5 separate regions of the Homo sapiens genome follow, and all the other regions are linked to region 5. Evidence: promoter capture Hi-C in 16 types of primary human blood cells and fetal thymus (Javierre and others, 2016). All regions are on one chromosome and are shown on one strand. Each heading gives the region's core, a stretch centred on a gene start or on the middle of the fragment in contact. The rest is flanking DNA. Distances are from core to core; before and after follow the strand shown. Region 1 has its middle 33 kb from the start of DEUP1. Region 2 overlaps LOC105369422 (a long non-coding RNA gene). Region 3 overlaps SMCO4 (single-pass membrane protein with coiled-coil domains 4). Region 4 overlaps SMCO4 (single-pass membrane protein with coiled-coil domains 4). Region 5 holds the start of CHORDC1 (cysteine and histidine rich domain containing 1).

Region 1 (2,766 bases), core at 15-2,514, 3.1 Mb before region 5:
GTATTTTTGCCTGCACATACACACACACACAGACACACACACACACATGACTATATATATATAAAAAATATATATATAGTCAAAAAGAGATATATATATATATATTTATATATGTCTTATAAAATTTAAAATTGAAACAAAAAGAAAGAAAACAAAGGGACAATGAGGACTATATATATATATAGTCAAAAAGATATATATGTATTTATATATGTCTTATAAAATTTAAAATTGAAACAAAAAGAAAGAAAACAAAGGGACAATGAGGACAATCTTTTGGTGAGAGTAAATGCGCCACATGGGTGCTACCTCACTGTTTTTTTTTCTCTGTGGGAGACATTACTAATTGATAAGAACTCTCTCTCTCTGGAGCCTGGAGACAGACTCAATACTTCCCAGAATCCAGTTTTAGGCATATAAGATTTGGGTCCTCAGAAGAAAACCATTTGCCATTCTTGGCCTAAGAGGAAATAATCCTTTACAGGCCTGCCCTTGCGTTTCTGAACTTAAGTGAAAAAAGCCCAAAATATGTTTTATGGTACACCAAACTAGAACATATATCCCTGTATACCTAACTCTGAAAACCAACTTAATTAAAGGATGATAGTCACTACTGTAGAACTCTAGCATTCCAGTGAAATTGCTACAGTTGAAAAAAGCCATTTAGAATTTAAAAAATATTCTCAACATTAACATAAAGATATACTTCAAAGCTTTACAGCACCACGATTAACAGAATTTTATTGCTGAGAGTTTTCAAAATAGTGTATATCTCTTCTCTAGCAGTATTGGCATATAACTTCATAAGAAAATCATTTTCCTTCAGGTCAGTATATAGTTAATTCACATTTCGAGATGAGGCTACCATGACAACATGACAACTTAATGAGGTTTGAACAGCTTCAGAAAAGGGATTACTAAAAGGAAGAGAAAAGAAAAACCTTGTGATAGAAAAATAGAATACCAGAATTATCTGGATGATGTTTAACAGCCATCTACAAGGACTTATTGTCACTCTTTTATCATGGCTTCCTCTCTCTGTTTTCATTTCAACTACTGCAGTGGTAGGATTATTTGTTCTTTGATGAAAATGAGTTGTTGTACAAGATTCAAGAAGAACACTTGTTCCCATCAAGCACAGGATCTGTTAAAATCTCCTGACATTTTTCAATGGCACTTTCATATTTCCTGGAATTTGATTATAACTGCCTCATCATTATATGGATCACATGGCTAATGTGCAAGGGCAAAAGGTTATAGCATGAATTTTCTGGCCCCTCAAAGTCTCAAAGGAGATGATAGTTCAGGCCATGAGAGGAAGACCTAGGCAGTGTGTGGTAAATGAGATATGGAACAATGTGGAGTAATGGTACAATGTTCGAAAAAGCACCAGAAGGCCTAGGACCCCAAATTCTGCCAAACCAATGGTGTGACACTGGTTAAATCACTTATCCTCTGAGTCCCATTTCTTTCATCTGTAAAATGATATGGGCAGGTTCAGTGATCTGTAAGATAACTTCATTGCACCAAATTTCCTCAATACTGATGTGGCATATTTTACAACTTTTAGAATTCCTATAAATAGTGTTTAAACATAGAAAGAATACGGATAGACTACCCTGTATTCTCTTAGAAAAATCAAAAAGCATGACCGGTGTTAAGAGCAGTGCCAAGGTAGGTTCAGAATACATAGGAATCCATTTGGGTAATTTGAGGCTGGAACAATTACATCTAGTCAGAGAAAGGCATTAAGAAGCTGCGTATCATTTAGAAAATATTGCTCTAGAGACTATCTGTGTACAGAATAAAGCTTCAAGAAAAATGAAACAACAAAAGATAGGCAGACTCGTGAGGTCCCCTAGTTGTCAGAGAACCAGGCTCCTTCTTGTTTACTGTGTGGACCTCACTCAACATTTGCACAAGATGGCTGCTGGAGCCCAAGGTGTTGAGCTGGTGTGTTCCAGGCAGCAGGTTATGGAAAGGGTCCAAGAGGGACAGTGCATGCACTCCATGAAATTCCATTTATGTCTTATTCTCTAAATGAGGTAATTTGACCACATGTAGCTGCAAGAAGACTGGAAAATGGAATTTTTGCATGAACAACGGTGTATCTAGCTAAAAGCTACTGTTTTATTACCATACATGGGGAGGGAGAAATTAGCACTTCCTGACACGGTACTGGAGCGATGAAGCAGCGTGGCAGGATGAGGCTGAGAGCAAAGTTGTCTGTCAATGCTTGAAGGAGGAAGCAAAACCAAGTTGAATTGTGCAGACAATAATGATCACAAAGACAAGGCCATGCTTGGGCTTTCACTAATGTGTTTGCCTTGTCCCATAAAGATCTGTACACATGTGCACACACACACAGACATATACTTGAGTGTACACACTACACAATGGGTCAAAAATATAGTACAGCTCTAGATCAGTCACAGAGATTAATAATAAACATGAAGCAACTCCGTCAATTCTAAAATTCAGACAGTTCAGCTTTCTCTTTATTAATAAAACCAGAAACATCCTTATAAATATTTTTAAACATAAACTCTGTGCTATGCTCCCTACAAAAGTATTCAAGCTCAGAGGAACTCTGAATGCTCTATGATGTCAAAGGATGTCTGACGATTTGGGAATTTTTTAATAACTAAGACTTAAATAGTTGAAGGGATAGTCAAACTAAATTTAGCCATTAAATTACTACATTTCAGACACTGTGTGTGTCTGTCAGTCAGAGATTACTTTTCAGATTCCCAGAAGAACAGGTCA
Region 2 (2,700 bases), core at 191-2,690, 3.2 Mb after region 5:
GGGAGGGCTTTAGGGTTCATCAACAAGGTGAAGCAAAGAGTTTCTCCAAAGAAGGTGCACAGTGGATGAAGAAAACTAATCTGGCAATTTATGATGGAATTCAAAGGCTTTGAAGAAACGCCAAGATGAAAATTGTTGCCCCTTTCTTTGTGATGGAAGAATGAAAAAAAAAAAAAAAACACAAAGTTGTTGCTCTTGTAGGATTCTAGTTTTGAAGATGTCAACGAAAAAGAATGGAAGAGCTCTTAAGATCTAATGCAGAGGATTTAACGACACTAATCTAGTTTAGATCTACATGCAGTCATTGTAGAAATAATTATCAGGCACAAGTACAATGGCAAAGTACGGCAAACTCGAAGTATGACACTGTAGTAGCTCTTGATTCCAGCAACAGTCAGTAACCAAGCTTTTCACAAAGCTACATATGATTCTGATTTTCTTTTCTTTTCTTTTCTTTTGAGACGGAGTCTTGCTGTGTCACCCAAGCTGGAGTGCAATGGGACGATCTCGGCTCACTGCAAACTCCGCCTCCTGGGCTCAAGTGATTCTTCTGCCTCACTAGCTGAGATTAGTGGCACCCACCACCACACCCGGCTAATTTCTGTATTTTTAGTAGAGACGGGGTTTCACCATGTAGTCCAGGCTGGTCCCAAACTCCCTGACCTTAGGTAATTCACCTGCCTCAGCCTCCCAAAGTGCTGGGATTACAGACATGAGCCACCATGCCCAGCCATAATTCTAATTTTCTACTAATTTTTGTTGCAACATAACTTCAGGTTTTTCCTTACGTCATTTTATTTAAAATATTGAGTTTCTAATATGTAAATATAAATTTTAATATTCAAATCTGGAGTATTAAAAGATACATATGCCCTTTCAGTCCAAGTAGGCAGTGTGTCTGCCAATACAATTCTCTTTAAGATTTTGGGGACTTCATATATATCAAATTATAATCCACTCCAATAGAAAAAAAAGCCACACTCACAAACCTCTGAGACAAACACTTTCCGTCTTGGGCTGAGAGTAAGAAAGCTGATGGAAAACACCCTTATACACTTAGAAGTGCTTTTGTCTAGCTGAAATGGTCTAGGTAAAATGGCTTTAAATCTTTGTACAGTCTTTACAAAAAATCTAAATAGCTGCACCCTGGATTGTACCTTCCCCTTAAGGCAATGCCTTAGTTGTTTCACCATCTGGAGAGGCTGGAAGTGAAAAGCAGTTTTATTTTTGAACCCAAAGTTCCCAGACTGTGTATATTTTCTCTAAATTTTGCTTAAAAATGAAATTGTTCCTTTTATATCTCACCTCTCTACATCTTATTCCACATAGGTTTTTTTTTTTTAATCAGTTGGCATTTTCAACAGTCTGTCTGGAAATTTCCTTAACTGCAAATACACCAGTTTGTTAGATATATTTTCTATTTTCTGCATTTCAGCATGCAACAGTGTTGCCAAACTTTCTGCCACTGCATAACAGGGATCCCTTTTTCTCCAGCCTTTCCTAACAGTTTCCTCCCTTCAAGCCTTCAAAGATTGTAGAAAAAACTCTCAAGTGGCCTTACAAAATATTCAGGTACATACACTGTCTAGAATTCTCAGCATCTATATTAGTTTGATGTTACCAGTACTTGGAAGCTACAGCTAAGGACACCATTCTCTCCAAACCCCTACCACTCCAACCACAGAATGTAAAAGTAAAAGATACTTTTGGAGGCTGAGGTGGGAGGATCACGAGGTCGGGAGATCGAGACCATCCTGGCTAACACAGTGAAACCCTGTCTCTACTAAAAATACAAAACAAATTAGCCGGGCATGGTGGCAGGCGCCTGTAGTCCCAGCTACTTGGGAGGCTGAGGCAGGAGAATGGCGTGAACCCAGGAAGCGGAGCTTGCAGTGAGCCGAGATGGTGCCACTGCACTCCAGCCTGGACAACAGAGCAAGACTCCATCTCAAATAAATAAATAAATAAATAAATAAATAATAAAAAAGTAAAAGATTTATGATTATTCTTTGAGAGGAAAAACACAAAATCAACATGTAGATGTGTACAAGGAATGCTTTAGAGGCCAGCCACATCTCTCTAAAAACAGTAGACTTATGCAATAACATATCTGTAGAAGACAAGTGTATTGATAGAATTGGAAGAAAAAAAAACGAGGAGCCCCCTGAGGCAATTCAGGTGCATGCCTGGGAATGAGAACTGCAGCCCAGGGACCTCAGGAATTAACTATGAAATGGGATGCATAGCTTCTCCTGGACAGATGTCATTAAATAACTGACTCATCTAACTAATGTTTTCTTTCTGAGAATAAAACAAACTTTTATTACAGTTTGGCTTCCCATGCAGGTCTGTCTTGAGAGACAGAATGGTTATATATTAGGTAACAGATATCCTAGTTTGTATGACAGGTTTTAATTTTCTATTGTTATTTAATAAATTGGCAGCTTGATTTATGCACTCATTTATAAGCTTGTTTTATATCACTTAGCCTGAGAAAGGAAGAGCCTCCCTGATATGCTTCCAAAGCCAGGTTTTTTACCCTGGTTGTTTGTGGCAATAAATTCTGTATTAGCCAAGAATGGTTAGGCTATGCCGAGATACCACATACACTCTAAATCTCAGAGAATTTAAAATAAGAAAGATTTATTTTGTGTTTACACAAACTCCAAAGCAGACTGGCCAGTTCTTCAGGGCAAGGGC
Region 3 (2,700 bases), core at 126-2,625, 3.3 Mb before region 5:
CAGGTCATGCACAAATTCAACAATACCCAAACCCGCCGTAGTTGGCTAAATGGTGGCCCCAAAGATGTGCTTAGATTAGAACATCCCTGGAACCTATAAATGTTACCTTAATTGGAAAAAGGGGGTTTGCAGATGTGACTAAGTAAGGATCTTGAGATGAGATCATCCTGGATTATTTGGTAGGCCCTAAGTGCCATCACAGATATTCTTATAAGAGAGAAGCAGAGAGAGATTTGACACAGAAGAGAAGGCAGTGTGCCAAGAGGAGAGGGCATATGTCAAGATGGAGGCAGAGGTCGGAATGATGTGGCCACAAGCCAGGGAATGCCAAGCCACCAGAAGCTGGAAGCGGCGACAAACGAGTTCTCCCCTACGGCTTCTAGAGGGAGCATGGCATTGCCTGTTTATTTCAGACTTCTGACCTTCAGAATTAATACATTTCCTGTTTTAAGCCTTCCAGTGATAATTATGGCAGCCTCAGGAAACTCATATACTAGTCTGTGCCCTGTCCAAGACACTTCTGCTGTTTATGTGCTTGGCTCTCTCTTTCTCATATTGCTAGAAAAGCTTCTGAGCACTTACTCCCAATTTCTGTACTTATCTGGTCATGACCCAGCAGCAGAGTTGGCACTGGTTTGCAGAACTCCTGTTGAGTACCACTGATCTAGTCTCTATCATTTTATGAATGAAGAAACTGAGGCCTAGTGAGAGAAAGTGCTATAGGTCTGGGACGAGCAGCAGGTGCCTCTGCTACTTGGAATATTTAGACAGGGCCAGATCTGGGGAGAGCAGATAGCAGAGTTGCCCTTCGGAGGCCAGCTGGTGTCCCTGTCGCTGTTCTGTACCCTGTTCAGTGAAAGCTGATGCTCCAGTGAGCCCCTGGGGCGACAAGCTGCTCAGAAGGCCTAGAAACTAGGGCAAACTGGTAGAGCCTTTGCTGCAGCTACTGAGCCAACAGCAGCAGGCAAAGAACCCTGTCAAGGGTAGAGGTCACGGCTTGCTGATGACTTAATTTCCAGCTGACTGCTTCAGTCTTTATAGACCCTCTAACTCAGGTCATATTTTTCCTCTGGAGCCCAATTTTAACTTTCCATATTTTCAGAATGGCAATTATCTCTTAGAGAATGGGGACTAGACTACATGCTGCTTTGATAAAGTCCAAACTCCTTTACTTGGCATTCATGACTCCTGAATAACCAACTCCCTTCCCCTTTCCAGTTCTGCGTCCCATCCCTCCCTTTTACATACCTTAATCTCTGGACTTCACCAAAATCAGTGCTCCCTAGTAGAAGAGGCTATAAGACATTAGGTTCTTAAATCCCCACAGTAGGTAAGTTTGTGATTGCCCAACTCAGGAACTAATGGAAAAATATGGCGAGGATAGAGGTCGGGCATACATCTGTGAAGCTCTTTGGGAATAAAAAAACAACAACTGTTTACATTTACTGCAAGAGAATATGAAGGCAGCACAGCAGCCAGTACCAACCACTAACATGAACAAAGTCATCTGAGACCATCTGGCCCAGTGGAGCAACCAGATGCCTATAGCCACATACATAAGCCAGGCAAGACCAGAAGAAAAAGCCCAGCTGAACTCAGCACTGATTGCTGACCCACCATACCTTGAAATGAAATGTTTGTTTGAAACAAAACAAAAAGCACGGTAAACCAAGATTTATCTTTACGTATTTTAGTAATGATAGGCATTGTACCATTACTCAATTATGTCTTGCTTGTTATGGACACTTTTTGGAGTCTCCCACCTTTTTACTTTCAAGGGAACTCTTATTTATTTTGCTTTATGGGTAATACCCATACTAAAAGCTCCTTTCCCCCAGTATCTGGGCTTCCAACTTAATATTTAATGCCACTGAGGTTTTGAGTTAATTTGTTGGCTGTCCTCTGTGGCTGTCACACATCTCTCTTCCTTTCCTCTCTGATGTTATGGGACGGTAGTTCGGATGCCTGGGTCACTTTCTCATCTTTTATTTTTCCCAAGGCTTTGGTTTAAAAGCCTCTGTTCCTTCACCTTCCGCGTTTGTTTCTTTTCTAATCCCAAACCTGTATCCTTCATTTTTAAATCAGTGATTTTTGATTGCAGGGAACAGCCATGGTCTCATGGCGGCTTAAGTTAGCAGCGAGTTTGTTGTAGAAATCCCAGGAATACAGGAAGCAAAGCTTGACTGCCTGCTGGGCACAGGAGTGGGAAGGCCCCTCTAACTCCATGCAGGGGCTGCTTGGTCCTGTCCATCACGCACATGCACACATGTGCCAGTGTATCTGTCTGTCTGCCCTTCTGGAGCAGGGCGGTGACAAGTGTCTATCCCTAAGCCAGTTGGGAGAGGGGAACCGTGTGACTGCCCTCTCAGCATGGGCTGAGGGGGTTCCAAAAAAGGAGTCTGTGGAGGGATACCTCCCCAGCAGCTATTATACCCTTTCTTCTAATTTCTCAACAGGAATAACTCAAGTCACCTGTACTGGAAATCAGTTTGCTGAAATTAATCAACGATTCTTGAAGTTGAAGAAAAGGTAAACATTCTCTTATAAGGGAAACTCATTGTCTGGGGAGAGGTTACTGTCCCAGTCATTTCTCTCATATGCCTAGTTTTGTGTGTAATATTTTACCCCTTCTCTCTGCCTGGCCAAGTTCCTCTTCATCCCTCAAGATCTTTATCAAATGCCACCTTTGTCCTTTGTGGA
Region 4 (2,700 bases), core at 201-2,700, 3.3 Mb before region 5:
GCCTTGCCCACGAGTGGGAGCCAGACAGGGCTCCACGTGTTCCCCTCCCATAAGACAGCCTCCTTGTCCTATGCCCAGGGGTGGCTTTTGTCTCTGCTGACATGCCCCCAACATCTAGTAAATACGTACTTGTTGATGGACAGGATGTATTGGATGTGGGCCCTGGCATCTTTGCTGGGCTCTGAGTAGGCGGCATGCTGTGATTTCACTTAGAACCCTGAGAAGTTGGTCTTCTGGTATCCAGATTGGTACTGGAACATTAAGTTCTGATTTCATCACTGCTGCCTTCGATAAGTTACTTGCCTCCCTGGGCCTCAGTTCTCTCATCTTTAATCTAGAGGGTTGGATGAAATGATTGGCATGGGGGTCTCCCTTCACCTCTCCACCCACTCTGGGCAGCCCCTTGCACTGTCTCCCTGGTCACAGTGCGAGCTCCTGGAAGGTAGAGCCGGTTTAGGCACAGGGAACATGAACTTTTTATCCCAGCCAGCCTGATAAATACAGGGCTTCCCCAGAACTCAACATGCTTCAGCCCTGGTGCTCCCTGATGGCCTGTCTGGCCAGACCCCCAGAGTTCTTGCTTTCTGGGCCAACTTGGAGGCAGAGACGAGCAGGTGGTGGAGGATTTGGCTAAATCTCCATTCTGGCTCTGGAGGCGGGTGTCTCCAGTTGCTCAACCTGATCTCCTTGTTCTTTTCTCAAGTTTCACACAACTTTTTATCCTTTCCTTGAACAAAGGCTTTTTATTTCTGGATGATGTTGTGAGAAGTTTTTGTATTTATAAGTAAGGCAGAAAAGAATGGATCATAACTACAAAATTTTATATCAATTACATTCCAAATTTGTTAAGAAATATCTATGTGTAGGAAAAAGACCATAAAGTACTTTATTTTAGTGGTCATCTCTGGATTTTCATATTATAGGAGGGCTTTTTAAGCATTTTTTTTACAATGAGCATGTACTGTCTTTATAACTATTAAAATTATTAATGATAATTAATTATTATTTATTAGGATTTAGTATGTGCCAGACAATGTAAGAACTTGCCATTACAGTATCTTATTTAATTCTCACTGTGAACCTATGACATTCCTATTTTAAAAAAACAAAATATACTGGGTGTGGTGACTTGTACCTATAGGCCCAGCTACTCAGGAGGCTGAGTTGGGAAGATCACCTGAACCCAGGAGTTTGAGGGCTACATAGCAAAACCCATCCTGTTTCTTAAAAGCAAACAAATATTAACCTAATTTTTGTTATTGTGGTGAAATATACGTAAAAATTGCTTTTTTAGGCTGGTTGTGGTGTCTCATGCCTATAATCCCAGCCCTTTGGGAGACTGAGGCAGGAGGATCACTTGAGCCTAGGAGTTGGAGACCAGCCTGGACAATATAGTGAGACCCCATCTCTACAAAAAAATTTTTAAAAAATTAGTTATGCGTGGTGGTGTGTGCCTGTAGTCCCAGCTACTTAAGAGGCTGAGTTGGGAAGGTCGCTTGAGCCCAAGAAGCTGAAGTTGCAGTGAGCTGTGATCATGTCCCTGCACTCCAGCCTGGGTGACAGTGAGACCATGTCTCAAGGAAAAAAATTGCCTTTTCAACTATTTTTAAGTGTATAGTTTTGTGGCCTTAACCACATCCCCTGAGAGATTTTTTTTTGGAACCCCTTATGTGATAAATGAGGACGCTGAGACTTACAGAAACAAAGCTACCTGCCCAAAGTCACAGAGCTAGTCAGCTTCAGAGGCAGGATTTGAACCCAGAACTGACATACTCAGAAAGGTCCCAGGTTCCTGGGATCTGTGGTATATAACAGTTGGAGTCCATGATCACTCTTCTGCCTCTGCCCACCATTTGACAGTAGAAAGCCATTTGCTAGTGTATGTCTCTTTTTTGAAACTCTAGGGGTTGGATTGTGTTTGCCAGTGAGGTGGTGGTCAGCCCGATTTAGGGTGTGTGGCTGACGCAGGTGCTGCCTGTCAGCGGTTGCCAAGGTTGGTTTGTGAGCTCTGTTGTGTCTTGAGAAGGTTGAAGAGTGGGCTGCTGTACTGAGAGGGTTGTGTGTCGGAATTCTGTCTCTAGAAGGTCCTCAGCAGTGCAGTGGAAAGGGCAATGGCCTAGAGCTCAGATATGTGGCCTTGTCAGGTCTGGGTTATTTTGGAGAACACACATTGAACTTGGGAATTAGTCTGTACTTTAGTCCTGATTGTGCCGTGTGGTAGACATACTTAGGCTTCCATTTCCTCATTTCTCAGTGAGTGATAAAAATGCCTGTTCCACCTGCCTCCCAGGATGGTGGTGATGATTAAATGTCATGATGTAGGGAAAAAGTGCTGAGGAAACCACAGGGCTCTCAAGGAAGTTTCTCTGATGAGAATTTTGAGTGTACAATGGTGCGTGAGAACAGTGGGGCTGACCTTGGAGATGTGAGGAGGATGGATGCGGATGTGAAGAGCAGCAGGTTTGCTTTATTTCATTTTTGTTTTTGGCAGCAGCTTGTTTCCTCTACCATCGCTTCACTGGTGAAGTATAATGTTCCACTGTCTACCTGGTGTTGTACTGCCTAGTGCTGAATGCTCTAGGATTTCACTGGAATTTGTCCCTGCCAAATTCCTTGGATTCACTCTCCCCAAAACTCTCATCTCTTTGGTGAAATGAGTTGTAATTTAGGAGATCATTCTGTAACTGCGGTGGTTGAAAG
Region 5 (2,767 bases), core at 251-2,750:
CCTGGTAATGTTGCATTGATACTAGGATACTCAAGACAACAGATTTGGTCACAACTAAAACTTTTTAGAGCTCTCCACTTACTCATTTCCAATTGTGTATGATCAATTTCTACGGTCTATTACATTCACAGCCGGTGCAATTGTAAATTGGTACCACCTTTCGGAAAGCAATTGGCTCTATATATCTTTAAAATCTTAAAGTTATTTAAAAAGCCTTATGCCCTTTACCCCAGAACTGTCGCTTTCCAAAAATTTTCCTAAAGGGGGAAATTCGAAATAAGAAAAACAATACACAGGTTGAGCACTGTAACTTATATATAATAAAGTTGGGGAAATTAGAGAAAGGTTAAATTACAGTGCATTTATTCAACAGAATACTCCGTCATTTGTAACAATGACTATGAAACAAAATAGAAAAATACTCACGTTAGGTTAAATGAAGAAAACATACCTATCTATGGTGGATCACAATATGAAAATTTAATACTTCTAGGTAGAAGAAGAGAAAGAGAATATGAAAAACTAAAAAGTCTTTAGGGGTAGGAGGACGTGAGCAGATCTCTAAATAACCTTGAGATCAATGGAAACAGTGTATAGATTTTTAGGTTCACTTATAAGCTGCTGATCTTATTTTAAGATCCTTCAGTATATGTTATCAAAAAGTGTTTGCTTTTCTTGCAAACGCCCATGTTTGGGAAATATGCAAGTTGAAGCCAATGCATTACTGTACTTTTTATAATGCACCTGAAGTTTTACTAGCTGTTCCAAGAGTGGTGTACTGAGTATTGATAAATCGTTTAAGTGGAGGCTCACATGAAATATTAACTATTACCCCAGGGCTTTAGAGCAACTGTGATCAATTCTGGCACAGCATCAGATCCATAATTTTCTTTGCTACTCTGATTTCTACGTTTTTTGTATTTTCAAAGTAATGTGACCGCAACTGTTAAGTTATTAAAATTGCTCCTGAGATGAGGGCACTCGAGACACAAACACACGGAGAGGTTCGTCCGCTATTCCTCTCATTTACTAAGCTCACACGTCTACCCTGAGGATTTGGAAACACTGTATGATTCTGCACTTACTGTGCACTTATCCCTTAGTGCTAAGGGGTAAACAGATACCCACCGGGCTGTCTAAGGCGCAGCCTCAAGGCAAGGAAGAAGGGTGCTGGGTCGCAGGGGATGAGAGGGCGGGGCGGCCACTTTGCTGCAGGAGATACCCAAAGCCAGTTAGCACTGAGGAAGTCAGAAGAGAATTGTCAGTCTCTCGGACACCTTCATTTTCTGCCCCGGAAATTTCTCCTCCGCTGTTGTCTGGGCTCCACTTCCGACCCCCAGTTGCTACCAGCTGTAGTCCGACCTATCGTGGCCCGGGCTAGTGCCAGCCTCCCGCCGCTACCTCCGCCTCGTCCCTTCTCCTCTGCGCCTGCGCGACCGGAAAATTCGCGAAGGTTCCTGAAACGCAACGGATCGTTTCCGGAAGCCGGTAGCCGCCTCAGTCGTCAGACCGGTGCTAGCGACACGGGAGTGGCAAACGCATCCTCTTGCCGTTCCCGGTGTTTGGGCCTTGCCTGTGACGGTGGGAAAAGAAAATGGCCTTGCTGTGCTACAACCGGGGCTGCGGTCAGCGCTTCGATCCTGAGACCAATTCCGACGGTAAGAGGAACGCGCCGCCAGCCCTCCCTCCCCTCCACCTCATCAGCAGGGGAGGCCCTTTGGGCCGGAGGGTGTCCGCGGATCTCCTGCAGCCGTCCTCGCGCGGCCCCAGGTCCATGCCCCTCCTGGGCCTCCCTTGGCTGCCCGCGCAGCCCGCCGGCCGCCCCTCTGTTGCGCCGCGTTCCCTTGGCGAGCGCCCGGCCCCGGCGCCTGACTGTCCTCTGCCACTGCGGAGAGAGACGCTCCCATGGATCCACGTGTTTCCCCCGTCGTCCCCGCACTCCTTTTAAGTCGCCTGGAATTTAGAACGAACACGTTTCTCCTCTGGCCCTCCAGTCTCTGGGGAAGCAAAAATTAACGAGGTACTGGTGAGCTTGCTTTGTAGTTCCCGAAGTAGTGATGGCTGTGATTGCCTGCGCGAGAGGGAGAGGTGGCCGGGATGAGCAGCGGGTTGTCCTAGCATGTAAGCTCTGCCTTGTAGAAGTTTGTGTTCAGTCGATCCGCTGTTACAAACCTCTTACAAGTGTTCTTGGTAAGGGACATTACTCTGTATCTTCACGCTGTTTTGATAGGTTCATCCTGGTGGTACGTTAGTTATCTTTTTATTACTAGCGGCATTTGTTGCTTGTTCTTCTTGTGGCCTCCACGTTTTACTACCATGCCTACTCCCGTATAAAATGAGTGAATGTCATCTACAGCACCTAGATGTCGAGTTAAGGATCCAAAGCGAAAATGACTATTAGGTGAAGGACGGGAAATGATCAGTGAATTGAAATTTTGATTGACAAAGAAGTGAGATGATTCCTTGCGTATCGTGAGAAGTGACAACACGTTTTCAGATTGAACTAGCATTTAGTTTATATTTTCTGCATGCCAGCCATTATTGCTTTATCTTATTTAATCTTCATAACCACCCTGGGACGCATGTAATGTTAATTAGACCCATTTGATAGAGAAGCTCAGTTCAATGAGGTTGTATTAATAACATCCTTCATTATTGTGGAGGAGATGAAAACTGATGCCTTTTGAACTCTTCACCTCTGAGATGTTTGAAATACTTATTTTTGGCACACAGGTAAATTGATAGCGTTATTTAAAATAAGACCATT

Evidence for each region. The method cuts DNA at HindIII sites, captures the fragments that hold promoters and counts their contacts. A CHiCAGO score of 5 or more calls a contact.
Region 1: a fragment that was not itself captured here is called in contact with the fragment with the promoter of CHORDC1 in region 5 in 1 of 17 cell types (neutrophils); the score reaches 5.8 in neutrophils.
Region 2: a fragment that was not itself captured here is called in contact with the fragment with the promoter of CHORDC1 in region 5 in 2 of 17 cell types (activated CD4 T cells and naive CD8 T cells); the score reaches 7.3 in activated CD4 T cells.
Region 3: a fragment that was not itself captured here is called in contact with the fragment with the promoter of CHORDC1 in region 5 in 1 of 17 cell types (fetal thymus); the score reaches 6.1 in fetal thymus.
Region 4: a contact is called between a fragment that was not itself captured here and the fragment with the promoter of CHORDC1 in region 5, in 2 of 17 cell types (fetal thymus and non-activated CD4 T cells). The highest score is 5.5, in fetal thymus.

The regions. Positions count from the first base shown.
Region 1 is chr11:93,296,591-93,299,356 of GRCh38, reverse strand. No RefSeq gene overlaps it. Among named protein-coding and RNA genes, the nearest start is that of DEUP1, 33 kb to the left of the region's middle. The HindIII fragment of the contact is 1,097 bases long and covers 716-1,812 here.
Region 2 is chr11:87,031,539-87,034,238 of GRCh38, reverse strand. The region is part of intron 1 of LOC105369422 (a long non-coding RNA gene); the gene reads left to right. Among named protein-coding and RNA genes, the nearest start is that of TMEM135, 5.0 kb to the left of the region's middle. The HindIII fragment of the contact is 2,063 bases long and covers 409-2,471 here.
Region 3 is chr11:93,499,105-93,501,804 of GRCh38, reverse strand. It overlaps SMCO4 (single-pass membrane protein with coiled-coil domains 4), which reads left to right. Exons shown (of 3, transcript NM_020179.3): 2 at 2,457-2,529. Among named protein-coding and RNA genes, the nearest start is that of SMCO4, 43 kb to the left of the region's middle. The HindIII fragment of the contact is 1,611 bases long and covers 570-2,180 here.
Region 4 is chr11:93,526,354-93,529,053 of GRCh38, reverse strand. All of the region lies in intron 1 of SMCO4 (single-pass membrane protein with coiled-coil domains 4), which reads left to right. Among named protein-coding and RNA genes, the nearest start is that of SMCO4, 16 kb to the left of the region's middle. RefSeq lists enhancers at 1,677-1,726, 2,107-2,276, 2,307-2,406. The HindIII fragment of the contact is 7,277 bases long and covers 1-2,700 here.
Region 5 is chr11:90,221,782-90,224,548 of GRCh38, reverse strand. CHORDC1 (cysteine and histidine rich domain containing 1) reads left to right here and starts at 1,500. Exons shown (of 11, transcript NM_012124.3): 1 at 1,500-1,658. The coding sequence starts at 1,595. LOC124902812 (a long non-coding RNA gene) reads right to left here and starts at 1,390. Exons shown (of 2, transcript XR_007062978.1): 1 at 1,129-1,390. The HindIII fragment of the contact is 11,072 bases long and covers 1-2,767 here.